Regions from separate parts of the Homo sapiens genome. Here regions 1 and 2 are each linked to region 3. Evidence: promoter capture Hi-C in human tissues and cell types (Jung and others, 2019). All regions are on one chromosome and are shown on one strand. Each heading gives the region's core, a stretch centred on a gene start or on the middle of the fragment in contact. The rest is flanking DNA. Distances are from core to core; before and after follow the strand shown.

What was found. Contacts are between HindIII fragments. The study calls those that stand out against the background at their distance.
Region 1: a contact is called between the fragment with the promoter of SERAC1 here and the fragment with the promoter of EZR in region 3, in 2 of the 25 tissues and cell types used here (H1 embryonic stem cells and IMR-90 fibroblasts).
Region 2: a contact is called between a fragment that was not itself captured here and the fragment with the promoter of EZR in region 3, in 1 of the 25 tissues and cell types used here (lymphoblastoid cells).

The regions. Positions count from the first base shown.
Region 1 is chr6:158,165,268-158,169,747 of GRCh38, reverse strand. SERAC1 (serine active site containing 1) reads left to right here and starts at 1,486. Exons shown (of 17, transcript NM_032861.4): 1 at 1,486-1,608. It overlaps GTF2H5 (general transcription factor IIH subunit 5), which reads right to left and starts at 1,398. Exons shown (of 3, transcript NM_207118.3): 1 at 1,353-1,398. RefSeq lists silencers at 1,399-1,578, 1,619-1,688. The HindIII fragment of the contact is 17,979 bases long and covers 1-4,480 here.
Region 2 is chr6:158,193,597-158,198,313 of GRCh38, reverse strand. GTF2H5 (general transcription factor IIH subunit 5) reads right to left here. Exons shown (of 3, transcript NM_207118.3): 3 at 1-4,717. Among named protein-coding and RNA genes, the nearest start is that of GTF2H5, 28 kb to the right of the region's middle. RefSeq lists an enhancer at 3,343-3,943. The HindIII fragment of the contact is 3,149 bases long and covers 645-3,793 here.
Region 3 is chr6:158,816,516-158,820,736 of GRCh38, reverse strand. EZR (ezrin) reads left to right here and starts at 1,369. Exons shown (of 14, transcript NM_001111077.2): 1 at 1,369-1,420; 2 at 2,571-2,655. The coding sequence starts at 2,644. EZR-AS1 (EZR antisense RNA 1) reads right to left here and starts at 2,758. Exons shown (of 3, transcript NR_102425.1): 1 at 2,632-2,758; 2 at 144-265. RefSeq lists silencers at 1,086-1,135, 1,196-2,185, 2,326-2,525 and enhancers at 2,736-2,785, 3,268-3,437. The HindIII fragment of the contact is 16,325 bases long and covers 1-4,221 here.

The sequences.
Region 1 (4,480 bases), core at 237-2,736, 650 kb after region 3:
TAATATATAATATACAATATATTATATAATATATAATATACAATATATTATATAATATATATTATATATTATATAATATACAATATATTATATGTAATATACAATATATGTAATATACAATATATTATATGTAATATACAATATATGTAATATACAATATATTATATATAATATACAATATATTATATATAATATACAGTATATTATATATAATATACTGTATATTATATATAATATACAATATATTATATAATATACAATATATTATATATAATATACAATATAATATATATAATATATAATATATATAATATACAATATATTATATATAATATATAATATACAATATAATATTATATATAATATATAATATACATATTATATATATGTATTATATATAATATACGTATTATATATAATATACATAATATACATATTATATATTATATATAAAATAAATATATATTATATATAAAATACATATATAATATATATATATGTATATATACACTTCGAGACAGAGTCTCACTCTGTCGCCCAGGCTGGAGCGCAGTGTCGTGATGTCGGCTCACTGCAACCTCTGCCTCCCGGGCTCAAGCGATTCTCCTGCCTCAGCCTCCCAAGCAGCGGGGACTACAGGCGCCCGCCACCACGCCAGGCCAAATTTTGTATTTTTAGTAGAGGCAGGGTTTCACCATGTTGGCCAGGCTGGTCTCGAACTCCTGATCTCAAATGATCCACCTACCTCGGCCTCCCAAAGTGCTGGGACAACAGGTGTGAGCCACCGCGCCAGGCCAATTTATTGTATTTTTAGTGGAGACGGGGTTTCACCATGTTGGCCAGGCTGGTCTCGAACTCCTGGCCTCAAGTGATTTGCCCGCCTCGGCCTCCCAATGTGCTGGGATTGCAGGCGTGAGCCACCGCGCCCGGCCTCAGCCACCTCATTTTACATATGAGGAGACCAAAGGAAGAGATTAAGCCGTAGTTCCTGGCCAAAGGAAAAAAGTACAAGCCAGATCTCCAGATCTTGTGCCCCTTCACTAAATAAATCACGTCCCGTGCGGACCTAGGCTGGAAACAAACCACTCAGCGTACGCCCATTTAATTAACTTCCACTTACACCTGGGCGCAGGGCGAGCCCTAGCCCCACAGGAAACCCACGATTAAACGAGGGGGGGACTGCCGTGCGGCCCCGCCAGGAAGGGCCCGGAGAGAGTGGGGGACACCGCCCTGTGCCCCCAGCACCCGGTGGACAGGCTTCTGGGGCTTTTCTCTTCCTCTCCCCTTTCTTTGGGACCCCTCAGTGTTCCCACACCCCACTTTCCCCAGCCGCTCGGACGCTCGCCACACACCTCGGCCCACAGATGCAGAAGCGCCTCGGCGTTGCCGGCAGAGTGCGCCTGCGCCGATACGCCATCGCGCTAGGGACGCTATTGTGGGTGGAGCCAGCCGGCGGGAGGCGGGCCCAGAGCGGGCCGAGGGGGCGGGGTCACGAGCCGCCAGCCGCCGGGTGGAGGGTCCCGGCCGGGAGCCGCGGAAAGAGTAGGGCTCCCCAGACAACGGGGTCCGACGAGCAGTTGGGCACGGGCTGAGTCCGCCTGCCGGCAGGTAGGACGTGAAGGCAGGGGTGGTGTGGGGGCGGACGGGGGCGTCGGCGCAGCTGGGCGCGGTGGGGAGCGGAGAATGGGGAGGGCAGGGACCGGGCACGGCCGAGCACCGCCGTCTGGCGCGCGGACCGGACCGACCAGCTGACGCTCGGCTGGGCGTGAGGGCCTCTCTCTCTGGTGGTCGCGAGCCTGACTCGTCTTTCCCTGTCGCTGCCTTTCTCTGGCTGCTGTCGAGGCCTTGGGGAGTGCACCTGCCGGTCCGTCTTCCCGGGCTCGGTAGTCACGGAGAGATGAGGAGGAGGAGGAAAGGGCCTCACCAGTCACTTCTGAGCCTTGCAGACCACCGCTTCCTGCTCCCTCTCTAACCCCAGAGATGGAATAGATTGAATGCTGAGAGAGCTCTAAACTCGGCAACGGTCATTTTAAAGTGAAAGACCCCAGAAGGTTCTAAAGTTACTCCCTTTCCCCAAGTCTGTTCTGTAAGTCTAAAGGAACACTGTCATTATTTTTACTAGTTGAGATATGAGATTCTTGTTTTCTGTTCCTTAGGTTAAATTGTACTTCCCGCATTAAGCTCATGCTGCCTTTTTTTTTTTTTTTTTTGAGATGGAGTCTCGGTCTGTCTGCCAGGCTGGAGTGCAGTGGCGCGATCTGGGCTCACTGCAACCTCCGTCTCCTGGGTTCAAGCAATTATCCTGCCTCATTCTCCCTAGTAACTGGGATTACAGGCGTGCGCTACCACGCCCGGCTGATTTTCGTATTTTTAGTAGACACGGGGTTTGTCCATGTTGGCCAGGCTGGTCTGGAATTCCTGACATCAGGTGATCCCCCGCCTCGGCCTCCCAGAGTGCTGCGATTACAGGTGTGAGCCACCGCGCCCGACCTCATGCTGCCTTTTTTTTTTTTTTTTTTTTTTTAACATCGTGTGTGTTCATGTGATCGCTAAGGAACCCAGCTCTTCCATTTAGTTCCCTCTTTCTATCCCTCAAATCTTTTCCAACTGGTGATTTCCATATTGTTGCACTCTCTTTAAAATAAAAAAATTGCCTCCAAGTCTTCTTCTTCCCAAGTATCTTTTATTTGCTTTTTTTCATCTTGCATACATTCTCTTCCTTGATCTCATCAGTTCCATTTTTGTGCACTTGATGTGTGTCAGCTATTATTCTAGACGCTTGGGATACAATGGTGAACAGGTAACTAATTTTGGTGGGGGCAGAGAGACTCTGAAATCAGTTAAGGAATAAGTACCATTTGGTGATGTGATAAAGAGTGACTAGAGGGGTTATTTTGGCCAGGGGGATGTCAGAAATGGCCTTAATTTCTGCATTTAAAAACTTCTGTATACCAGTAACAATTAACTAGGAGTTTTAATAATAAAAAGACACTATTCATAATGGCATTCAAAACTAAAGGTACCTAGAAATAGATGAACCTAAAGCTGTGTAGTCCTTTAGACAGAAAATTGTAAGGCTCTGTTGGAACACAAAAGATGACCCAAGTAAATGGTGAGATATACCGTATTAATAGATGGAAAGACTCAACAAAAAGATGTCAGTTTTCCTCAGTTCTACGAATTCAGTGTAATGCCAATTAAAATCACCATATTGTTTTATGGAATTTGCCATGCTGAACTTAAAATTTATATGGAAAGGCAAGGGACCAAGAATAGTGAAGTCAATTTTGAAGAAGAAGAAAAATAAGGTCTCTCCCTATCAGATACCAAAGCTTAATATAAAGTTGTAATTATTAAGATGGTATGATATTGATTCAGGGATAGAGAATTAGATTCATGGAACAGAATAGAGACACTAGAAACATACCTATTTACATACGGGAGTTTAGTATACCACTAAGTGGTATTGCAAAGCAGGGGGAAAGCATAGACTATTCAATAAAGGATGATGAAATATATGGTTGCTGAGATATCTGGCATTGTTATGGTATACAGACAGGATTAGATTCTTACTTTCAAACTATTGACAACAGTTTCCAGATAAAGACCTAAATGTGAATGGCACAGCTGCAAGGTATTTGGAAAGGAATATAAGAGACCATTGTCTCTAGGAAAGATTTCTTTTTTGTTTGCTTTGTTAAATCTTGTTACACATAAGATTTATCATGTTAACCATGTTGAGTTGTTGAGTTCAGTGACATTCACATTGTGCAACCAGCACTACTATCTATCTCCAGAACTTTTTTTTTAAATGTCTCTGAGAAGGATTTCTTAAGTTACAAAAAGCACCTTTGAGGTGTCATTTTATTACTCCAAATGAGAGATGATGTTGGCTTGAACTAGACAAGAGTGTAGCAGTGAATACAGAGAAAAATGGATGGATTTGGGGGTATGTTTTGATGGTAGAGAAGAGCAACTCTGCGTGGTTTAGATGTAGAGTAAGGGGAAAACAAGGAATCAAGGGCAACATCTGTTTTTTTGCTTCAGTTAAGAGGTAGATCATTTACCATTTACAATCAAAAAGCATTGACCATTTGATGGATAGTGATGGAGAAGATTTGTGGAGGAAGAGTTTGGGGAGAAAAAGTAAAGAATTCTCTTTTGGACAGTTGAGTATGAAAGGCCTGTTGGACATCCAAGTGGAAATGTTCCAATAGCTGTTGGATAGATAGGTCAGGAAAGATCGTAGCTAGAGGTACTCTGAGATCACTGGCATATAGATATTAAGAACTGGGCCGGGCACGGTGGCTCACGCTTGTAATCCCAGCACTTTGGTAGGCCGAGGCGGGTGGATCACGAGGTCAGGAGATTGAGACCATCCTGGATAACACGGTGAAACCCCGTCTGTACTAAAAATACAAAAAAATAGCTGGGCGTGGTGGCAGCCGCCTGTAGTCCCAGCTACTTGGGAGGCTGAGGC
Region 2 (4,717 bases), core at 970-3,469, 620 kb after region 3:
AAAATGGTTTCAGAAATGTTAACCCTCCAGACAACTTTCCTGGTAGAGTTACTCAGAGACAGTTTTGAGATCAATGAAAGCATCAGACCGCTGGTGGACTAGCTACCCAATGCTCTGTTTTTAGGGATTCTCCTCCTTCATCTGTTAGTTTCTGCACGGCATTGTGAAAGTGGGGAAAACAACGCATATGTGTGTGTTTCTATCTTCCCCTTTATCATTGTACTCTTCTAGATTCAAGGTAACTCAGTTTCATAACGTTCTGCTTTATATCTGAGGGGACTTCAAAAAGTTCATGGAAAAATAGAATTAAAAGATAAAAATAAAATATAATTTCTTTTATTTCTCAACATAAGCTCCATTAAGTTCAAGCAATGATACCAGCCATTCAGTCTATCCCTAAAGAACTGAGGGTCCTGGGAAATTAACCATGTCTTTTTTATTAGCTGAAGAAAAACAGGTGCCCTTCAGGGATTTTTTTAAGATTGGGAAACAAAAAGAAGTCAGAAGGAGCCAAATCAGGACTGGGAGATGGATACCTAATGATTTTTGATAGAAATTCTAGCTAAACTGCCCTTGCTTTATGAGAGGAATGCGCAGGGGAACTGTCACGGTGGAAGACCCTCTGGTGAAGCTTTCCCAGGCGTTTCTCTGCTAAGCTTTGGATTTCTCTCGAAACACTCTCATAATAAGCAGATGATATCTTTATTTGGCCCTCCAAAAAGTCAACAAGCAAAATGACTTGAGGATCCAAAAAACTGTTACCATGACCTTTGCTCTTGATCAATCTGCTCTTGCTGTGACTGGGCCACTTCCACCTCTTGGTAGCCATTGTTTTGTATTTTGTCTTGAGGGTCATACTGGTAAAGCCATGTTTCTGTTACAATTCTTTTTTTTTTCTTTTATGTTTGCAAAATAATTATTTTACAGCTCAGCAAAAGAAATATTATTGGATATTTTGAGCATAACGACTCAGACAACTATAGAGTTTTTGAATGAGTAGTGACTATTTTGCATGACGACTGTGCTTTTCTTTCTGCATTTGGGTATCTTATTTAAATGTGTGTTAGTGGGTTGGTTTGGCTGCCATGTTAAATTCTTGTTGTATCTGGTCATTTTCTGAAGATGATCTCTCCCAAAATGATCTCAGTCCTTTCAAAATCACCAAGCAGTCTTTATACCTGTCTCTGAATTCAAGGTTTTAAAAGTCTGTTTTTGCTACAATTCTTTGAAGAAATGCTTCAGGATCTTGATCTCACTTGTTTGACATTTCCATCGAAAGCTCTGCTTTTGTCTGCAGCTGACCTGGGCTGGATGGTTTTGGTATCCATTGAGTGGAAAGTGTGCTCAACTTTAATTTTTCAGTCAGATTTATAAAAGCTGAACCAACTGAGGAGCATATTGTGTTGGCTATCGTTTCTGCTGTTAATCATTGGTCCTCTTCAAGTAGGGCATGAATGAGATAATTTTTTCCTCACGAAGTGGCATGGTCTGCTGCTGTAGGTTTCATCTTCAACATTGTCTTGTCCTTTCTTAAAATGAATTATCCATTTGTAAACTGATTTCCTTGGGGCGTTGTTCCCATAAACTTTTTGCAAAGCATCAATGATTGCACCATTCTTCCACCTAAGCTTTGCCATAAATTTGATGTTTGTTCTTGCTTCAGTTTTAGCAGAATTCATATTGTTCTGACAGGGGCTCTATTTAAACTGATATCCTTCTTAGTGCCTCAAACTAGATCCTGTTCAGACATGTTATAATGATGAGTTTATTTTGCTGCAAAGATTTTTGAAATCTATGCATAATTTTTTTCATAATATGCATTTTCCATCAACTTTTTGAAGACCTCTTGTGTGTTAACTCACATTCATTTTAATAGTCTTTAAAGACGGGCATTCCTGTTTACACAAATGAGCACAAAGAAATCCAATCAACGAAACATCTGAGATCCCAGAGCTAGTAAGCAGAGATCTGACACTTGGACTCAAGGAATCTAGATTCAATCAGTGCTTTTCATTTTTATTTTTTTTGAGATGGGTGGGAGTCTCGCTCTGTCACCCCGGCTGGAGTGCAGTGGCACGATCTCGGCTCACTGCAACCTCCACCTCCCGGGATTACACCATTCTCCTGCCTCAGCCTCCCGAGTAGCTGGGACTACAGGCGTCCACCACCATGCCCAGCTAATTTTTTTGTATTTTTAGTAGAGACGGGGTTTCACCTTGTTAGCCAGGATTGTTTTGATCTCCTGACCTTGTGATTTGCCCGCCTCGGCCTCCCAAAGTGCTAGGATTATAGACGTGAGCCACCGCGCCCGGCCCAGTCAGTGCTCTTAATCACTTGCCTATCTTGAGAACAGTGTTTTTAAAAAAGTTTATCCAATAATCTCATCCATAGACATTTCAGTGTTATCTTTGCTGCAAATGAAATTGAGCTACGTACACTTGAGAATATTTATTGACTATATTTGCAAACTGCATCATTTCTCCATCTTTAAAATATACCCCTTCCCCATCTGTTAAGTTTGTTAAGATAGAATGATCTCAGTATTTTAGTTACAGCAGAGGCTTTTTGTCAGAGCTTTTACTCCTAGTTGTCAGCTAAGTAAGATTTATTGTATAACTGCAAAATAGAGTAGTAAGTACACTACCAACTTCTCAGAAAAAAGTACAATTATGTCAAATCACCTGTTCTAGAAAATGTAAAGAGCAATAAAATCATTAATCATTTGGATTACCACCTATAATGCCTATCAGAAATAAAATGCAGTAGTGTTTGTTGCCTATTATCAGTAATGCTGTTACTGTTCACCAAAACTGATTTCTCAAAATACATTGTTATATCCATCAACTGTGATGTTAGATAGGATCCCTGGAATTTTAAATTAATCACATGAAATTTCACAAGGAAATTGGAATTCAAGGAATTAAGACCTTGAATTTGACCTAATACAGTATTAAAAGAAAAAACCTTTATTGAGAAATATAACACTCAATATCACAACTTCAGTCCATAGTTCTATTAAGAGACAAAGTTTCACTCTGTCATCCAGGCTGCAGTGCAGTGGCACCTTCTTAGCTTACTGCAGCTTCAAACTCCTGGGCTTCAGTGATCCTCCTGCCTCCAGTTAAGTCATTTTAATGCTACCTTTAGGACTTTATTTAAAAAAAAAAAAAAAGTCATAAATTTCTTGGTGCCAAGCACCAACAGCCTTGTTCTGGACATGTAAAGTATGCCAAATCAAATAATGCTAGTCAGATTCCAATAAACAGCCTAGGTGAATGTCGCTTATTTCCTGTTCACCCATAGTTGGACATGTCAGCTAAGTGGTTACAGGTGGGCTTCCTATCATTCACATCACTCTATCTTTCTTAATAATGTCCAGAGAAAGAAAGATATTTAACATTTGCCCCAACACAACTTTTTAAAAATAAGAGCTCATATTTTCCTTCACTTATTTCACTTAATACTCTTTGCAGTTCTAATACCTAACCTTGTTTTTACTAACCTTGTTTTCAGACTGTCCCTTTCTCCCTTAATCACCTAGCCTTGTTTCCATGTGAATAAGCTCTCCCTTAGCTGAGAAAGCCGGAGGAACTCCATTTGGTTCCTTCATTTACAGGACATCAAGGACTCCTTACCCACCCCCTTTCCTCAAGGAGTTAACTTGTGTAAGCTGACTCTCAACATATCAAAGAGTCCAATTAACTCATAAGGTACTGAAGCAAGCAATGTACGAAGTTCCCAGGATTTCGCTCAAGAGATACACCATAAAGCCTTGAGTTTGTGTCTGGCAGAGCCCCCACACCTGACATCTTATGATAGATTTAGAGCCCCTGCACCTGGAACTGTTTGTTTCTCTGTAACCATTTGTCTTTTTAATTTTTTGCATGTTTTTACTTCTGTAGAATTGTTGCAACTGAGCTCCCGTCCCCTTCCTAAACCAAAGTATAAAGGAAAATCAAGCCCCTTCCTCGGAGCTGAGAGAATTCCAAGTGTGAGCCACCTCTTGGCTGCCAGCTAAATAAAGGACTTTTAAATTCGTCTCAAAGTGTGGCGTTCCTCTAACTTGCTCGGGTACAACACAGTCACTGTTCAATAGTTTTCTCATAAATATCTTTTTTTCTCTTTTTTACTTCAGTGGCAAAAATCCTAATACCTTTTGAACTCTGGGATTCTATCAAAAATTTTCTAAGTTTCATGTTAATATAAAAGGTTGGTGACAAATGCCTGAGGCATACTAAAAGTTGATTTAGACATGCCTGAAATATAAGATACATTAGTAACATTTTGGTATAGCTGGAAATTCATTTTTTTTTTTTTTTTTTTTTGAGATGGAGTCTCCCTCTGTCGCCCAGGCTGGAGTGCAGTGGCACAATCTCAGCTTACTGCAAGCTCCGCCTCCCGGGTTCACGCCATTCTCCTGCCTCAGCCTCCTGAGTAGATGGGACTACAGGCACCCGCCACCAGGCCCGGCTAATTTTTTGTATTTTTAATAGAGATGGGGTTTCACCGAGCAGGATGGTCTCGATCTCCTGACCTCGTGAGCTGCCTGCCTCAGCCTCCCAAAGTGCTGGGATTACAGGCGTGAGCCACCGTGCCCAGCCTGGAAATTCTTAAGAATCATCTTTTACTTAACTAGTTTTAGTAGTAGTAACTCATCAAAATTTTTTGCATTGCTATGAGGGAATGAAAACTGTGAACTGTATGGACTGAGTTATAT
Region 3 (4,221 bases), core at 120-2,619:
GGAGAATTGCTTGAACCTGGGAGATGGAGGTTGCAATGAGCTGAGATTGCGCCAATGCACTCCAGCCTGGGCAAGAAGAGCAAAACTCCGTCTAAAAAAAAAAGGGAAAGAAAAGTTCAGTCTTTCAGAGGGAATACACTTACCTGAATAGAGGTCAAAATCTCAGAAGAGGCCTCCCTCCTCTCTCTGACCTCTGAAATGCCCTGGATCTGCAAGTGGGAGATAACAGGCCCTGACAAAGGGTTGCCCAAACAGCAGTGTGTCCCTAGGAAGACAGGTTAAGCATCAATTACTATGAGGCTAGCACGAGTTAAGCATTCCACATGCACGATCTCATTTAATCCTTACAAGTCTATGTAGGTGGGGCTACTAGTATGTTCACTCAACAAATTGGGAAACAGAGTTTGGAACTTCGCCCAAAGTCATTGGTTTCTCTTTCTACCAGGATAGATTTAAGTGCTTACTAAGTGTCAGGTACTGTTCCAGGCATCGTACATGTACTAACTCATTATCCTCATTAGAACCCTCTGATACAGGTGCCATAATTATGCCGCTTTACAAACAAGAAAACTAAAAGCAGAAAGGGAGGAGTAAACCCAGGAGAGGAATTCAGGAGAAGCTCTGGTCTCAACCTTTAGCCAACATCACAATCACCCGAAGGGCTTGTAACACACTGATTGCTGGGCTCAGCCCTAGAGTTTCTGAATCCTAAGGCTGAGCAACACCTAATTTCCACTTATGCAAGTTCCCAGTGAATGCTGTTGCTGCTCGTCTGGAAGCCAGACGTTGAGAACCCCTTCTAGAGTGAGCTCTCCCGCAGCAAATTCTACTGGCCCCCAAAGTATGTGTTTTGTGTGTCTTAAAAATTTGTTGAGAACCATTAGCAAAAAAACAAACAAAAAAACTTAATTCCTAGAATTTCAGAGAAATCCCATGGAGCTTTTTGCCAGTCACGTCAAAAGAGGCCACAAACGTGCCACTTAACCAGAGCTTCGGAAAGGCGGCGGCTGGGCCGGCCACGTGCACCGAGACTCGGGGCCAGGTGCAGCCGCCCCAGGGCCGAGGCCTCGGAACTGGCCCCCGGTCCCGGCCCCAAGCGGTCCAGCGATTCCCCCAAGCCGTCCGCCCCTCCAGATTTATTTACGTTTTCCTGACTTCCCCCTGCCCGCTGTGGGACAAACAGCCTCCCCACTTGCATCTGCGAGGGGAGTAGCGCGCACTTCCGCCAAGTTCCGCCCCCACCCAGCCCGAGGCCCGGCTGCCGCCATCTTGCGGGGGGCGCACCTCACAGGTCGGGAGCTGGGCGGGAAGGGGCGTGGTCCCGGGACCCGCCCCGCCGGGGCTTTTGGGAGCGCGGGCAGCGAGCGCACTCGGCGGACGCAAGGGCGGCGGGGAGCACACGGAGCACTGCAGGCGCCGGGTGAGGCGTGCGGCGGCCGGGGTCGGGACGGGGGTTCTGGGCGGGGGGTTCCTGGTGGAGGGCCCGGGCGGGCGGCGGGGTTCGGCGGCAGGTGCGGCGGGCAGCCTAGGGGGCGCGGCGCGGGGTTCTCGCCCGGCACCCCCGGGGCAGGTGGAGCTGAGCCGGCCCGCGGCCCCGCGACCTTCCCCTCGGCGCCGGGTCCCCTCAGGTCTCTCCCGAAGGAAACGCGGAGCCTGGGTGCCTGGGCGCCGTCCCTCGGCGGCTCCCGAGCGGTTGCAGTTTTTGAAAGAGTTTCTCAAAGGCTTGACGGTTGTGACTGCAGCCGCGGGGCAACGGTTGCTACACAAAGTGAAACTTGCCGAGTGCTCGGCTTCTCACGGGCTTCCTGGCAGCCCCGGGAAGTTCCTCGGCGGACCCCGAGCCCGCGCCCCCTCTCCACGGATCCCTCCCCAGCGAGTGCCCCCCCGCCCGCCCTGTGCCCCCTCTCCCCTGACCCCTCCCTGTCGGGTGCCCCGCGGGCTCGCGCTGGCTGTCCCGGGACTCCTTCCTCCTAGGTGTTCCTCCTGCCCCTCGCCCTCTCTCTCCCAGGCGCGCGCTCCCTCTCCCCGGGCCTTTCCCCGCCGGGTATCCCTGGGCCCGCGCCCCCTCTTCTCCGCCTCTCTCCGCTGGGTGCACCTCGAGTGTCCCCCAGACCCCTCCCCGCCCGGCCGGCGCTCTCTCCCCTGACCCTCCTGGCCGAGTGTTCCCCGGGGCCCGCGCCCCCTCCCCCCGATCCTCCCCACTGAGTGTTCCCCCTGCCCTCTCTCTCCCGGGCCTGCGCCCCCCACCAGCCCCTTCATGCTGGGGGTCCCCTGGGTGCGCACCCCCTCTCCTCGGACCCACCCCCAACTGGGGGGCACCTCCAGTGCCCGCCGGCTGCCCCTTGGGCGCGCGCCCCCGCTCTCGGGCGCCTCCTCGCCGGGGGCCCGGCCCGGCCCCGCCCCGCCCGTGCCCCCTCCCCATGCCCGCAGTGCTGGGCGGGGCGCTGACTCACCCGGGCCCGGGCTGGCCGGTTCTTAAGCGGCAGCGCGCTGCGGGCGCCGAGTGTCGGGCGCGGCAGGAGGACGAGGCAGGGCGGGCGGGCGCTCTAAGGGTTCTGCTCTGACTCCAGGTTGGGACAGCGTCTTCGCTGCTGCTGGATAGTCGTGTTTTCGGGGATCGAGGATACTCACCAGAAACCGAAAATGCCGAAACCAGTAAGTTGCCCAGTTTCTGGGCCGGGCGGACGGGAGAGGCTTCATTGGAGAGGGGAGGCACCTGCTCGAGGTGTTGGGGCAGTTCCTGGGGAACAGGGTTCTTCTCACACGCAGAAGACGATAGGAATAGGAGGAGGTTTTCGCCGCTCTTTGTTACTTGTTGACCCTTTTGTGGAGCGTTAGGAAAACACCATTTTGATGCTTTTCTCTGCAGTCTTTTTCTTTGTGAGCCCCCTCCCCAGTAGTTACGGTCTTTTCTAAAAACTAGAGGCCTTTTTACACTGCTTCCGTCTGTTTTTAAAGGGTATAGTAATACAACTTAGAAGTTTCTTAAAAAGTCCAAATCACAGGGAGACTCAGATGGCTTCCGACCACACACACCAGTTCTCAGAGCTCCTAAGGGTCCGAAACCACAGGCGCCCCAGATCCAACTGGGGAGATATTAAAGGGCGTTTGGGAGAGGAGACTGGCTTTCGGAAGTTGCCTTTCAGCTTCGCTTCCTACTAGGCCCATGAAGCGGTGCCCTGTACACCAGCAAACTTGCTGGCTGCAGCAGAATTTCTGTCTCTAACAGAAGGTTAGCCATGGACTTGAATTGTAGATGCAGGCAGCCGGTGGAGTTTGATAAGAGGTTCCTGGCAGGCCGGGCCGAGCACTCCTGGTCAGCTGATGAAAGGGCTGTGCCTGCGCCTCTGTCTCCTTGAATCTGATTGTGTTGAGATTGCTGGCGAGACCTGGGGGTTGTAGGCACAAGGCAGGTTCTCTGGGACTGACGCTTCTTAGAAAGTTGTATGTATTCTACCTGCTTTTAACACTGGGGAACTGGTGACTAGACATTAGGGGGAAGGTTTAACATTTTTTGAGTTTTGAATCACAATGGACAAAATATCAGGATTCATTACAAATTGGGATTACAGATACATCTGGAATTTTTTTTTGGTTTTTCAAACAAGTTGGTTCTGTAATCAATGCTTGTGTGCCTTTTGTGGGGGATGGGGGAGCGGAGTCTCTCTCTGTGGCCCAGGCTGGAGTGCAGTGGCATGATCTCGGCTCACTGCAACCTCTGCCTCTCAGGTTCAAGCGAATCTCCTGCCTCAGCCTCCCGAGTAGTTGGGATTACAGGCATGTGCCACCATGCCCAGCTGGTTTTTGTATTTTTATAGAGAGGGGGTTTCACCATGTTGGCCAGGCTGGTCTAAAACTCCTGACCTCAGGTGATCTGCCTACCTCGACCTCCCAAAATGCTAGGATTACAGGCGTGAGCCACCACACCCGGCCTTGTGTGCTTCTTCTGTTACATTTTATGTTCTCTAAGATCTTTGTTAGAGGTATTAATTTTGCTGTTAGGATAAAGAATTAATATGCCAGTAGATTCAGAAGCCAATATAATTTTTGCCTAAGTTACATCAAGATGATTCATTTGTGATGCAGAGTATTTTCTATACAAAATTTTTCTTTTTAATTCAAACTTAAAAGTGACACGTGACATCGAGGCTTGACAGTGCATGTGGTATGAAACTGACCTAAGTACAACCCCTTACTCAGGCAGAGCTGAGTGCAACGGTA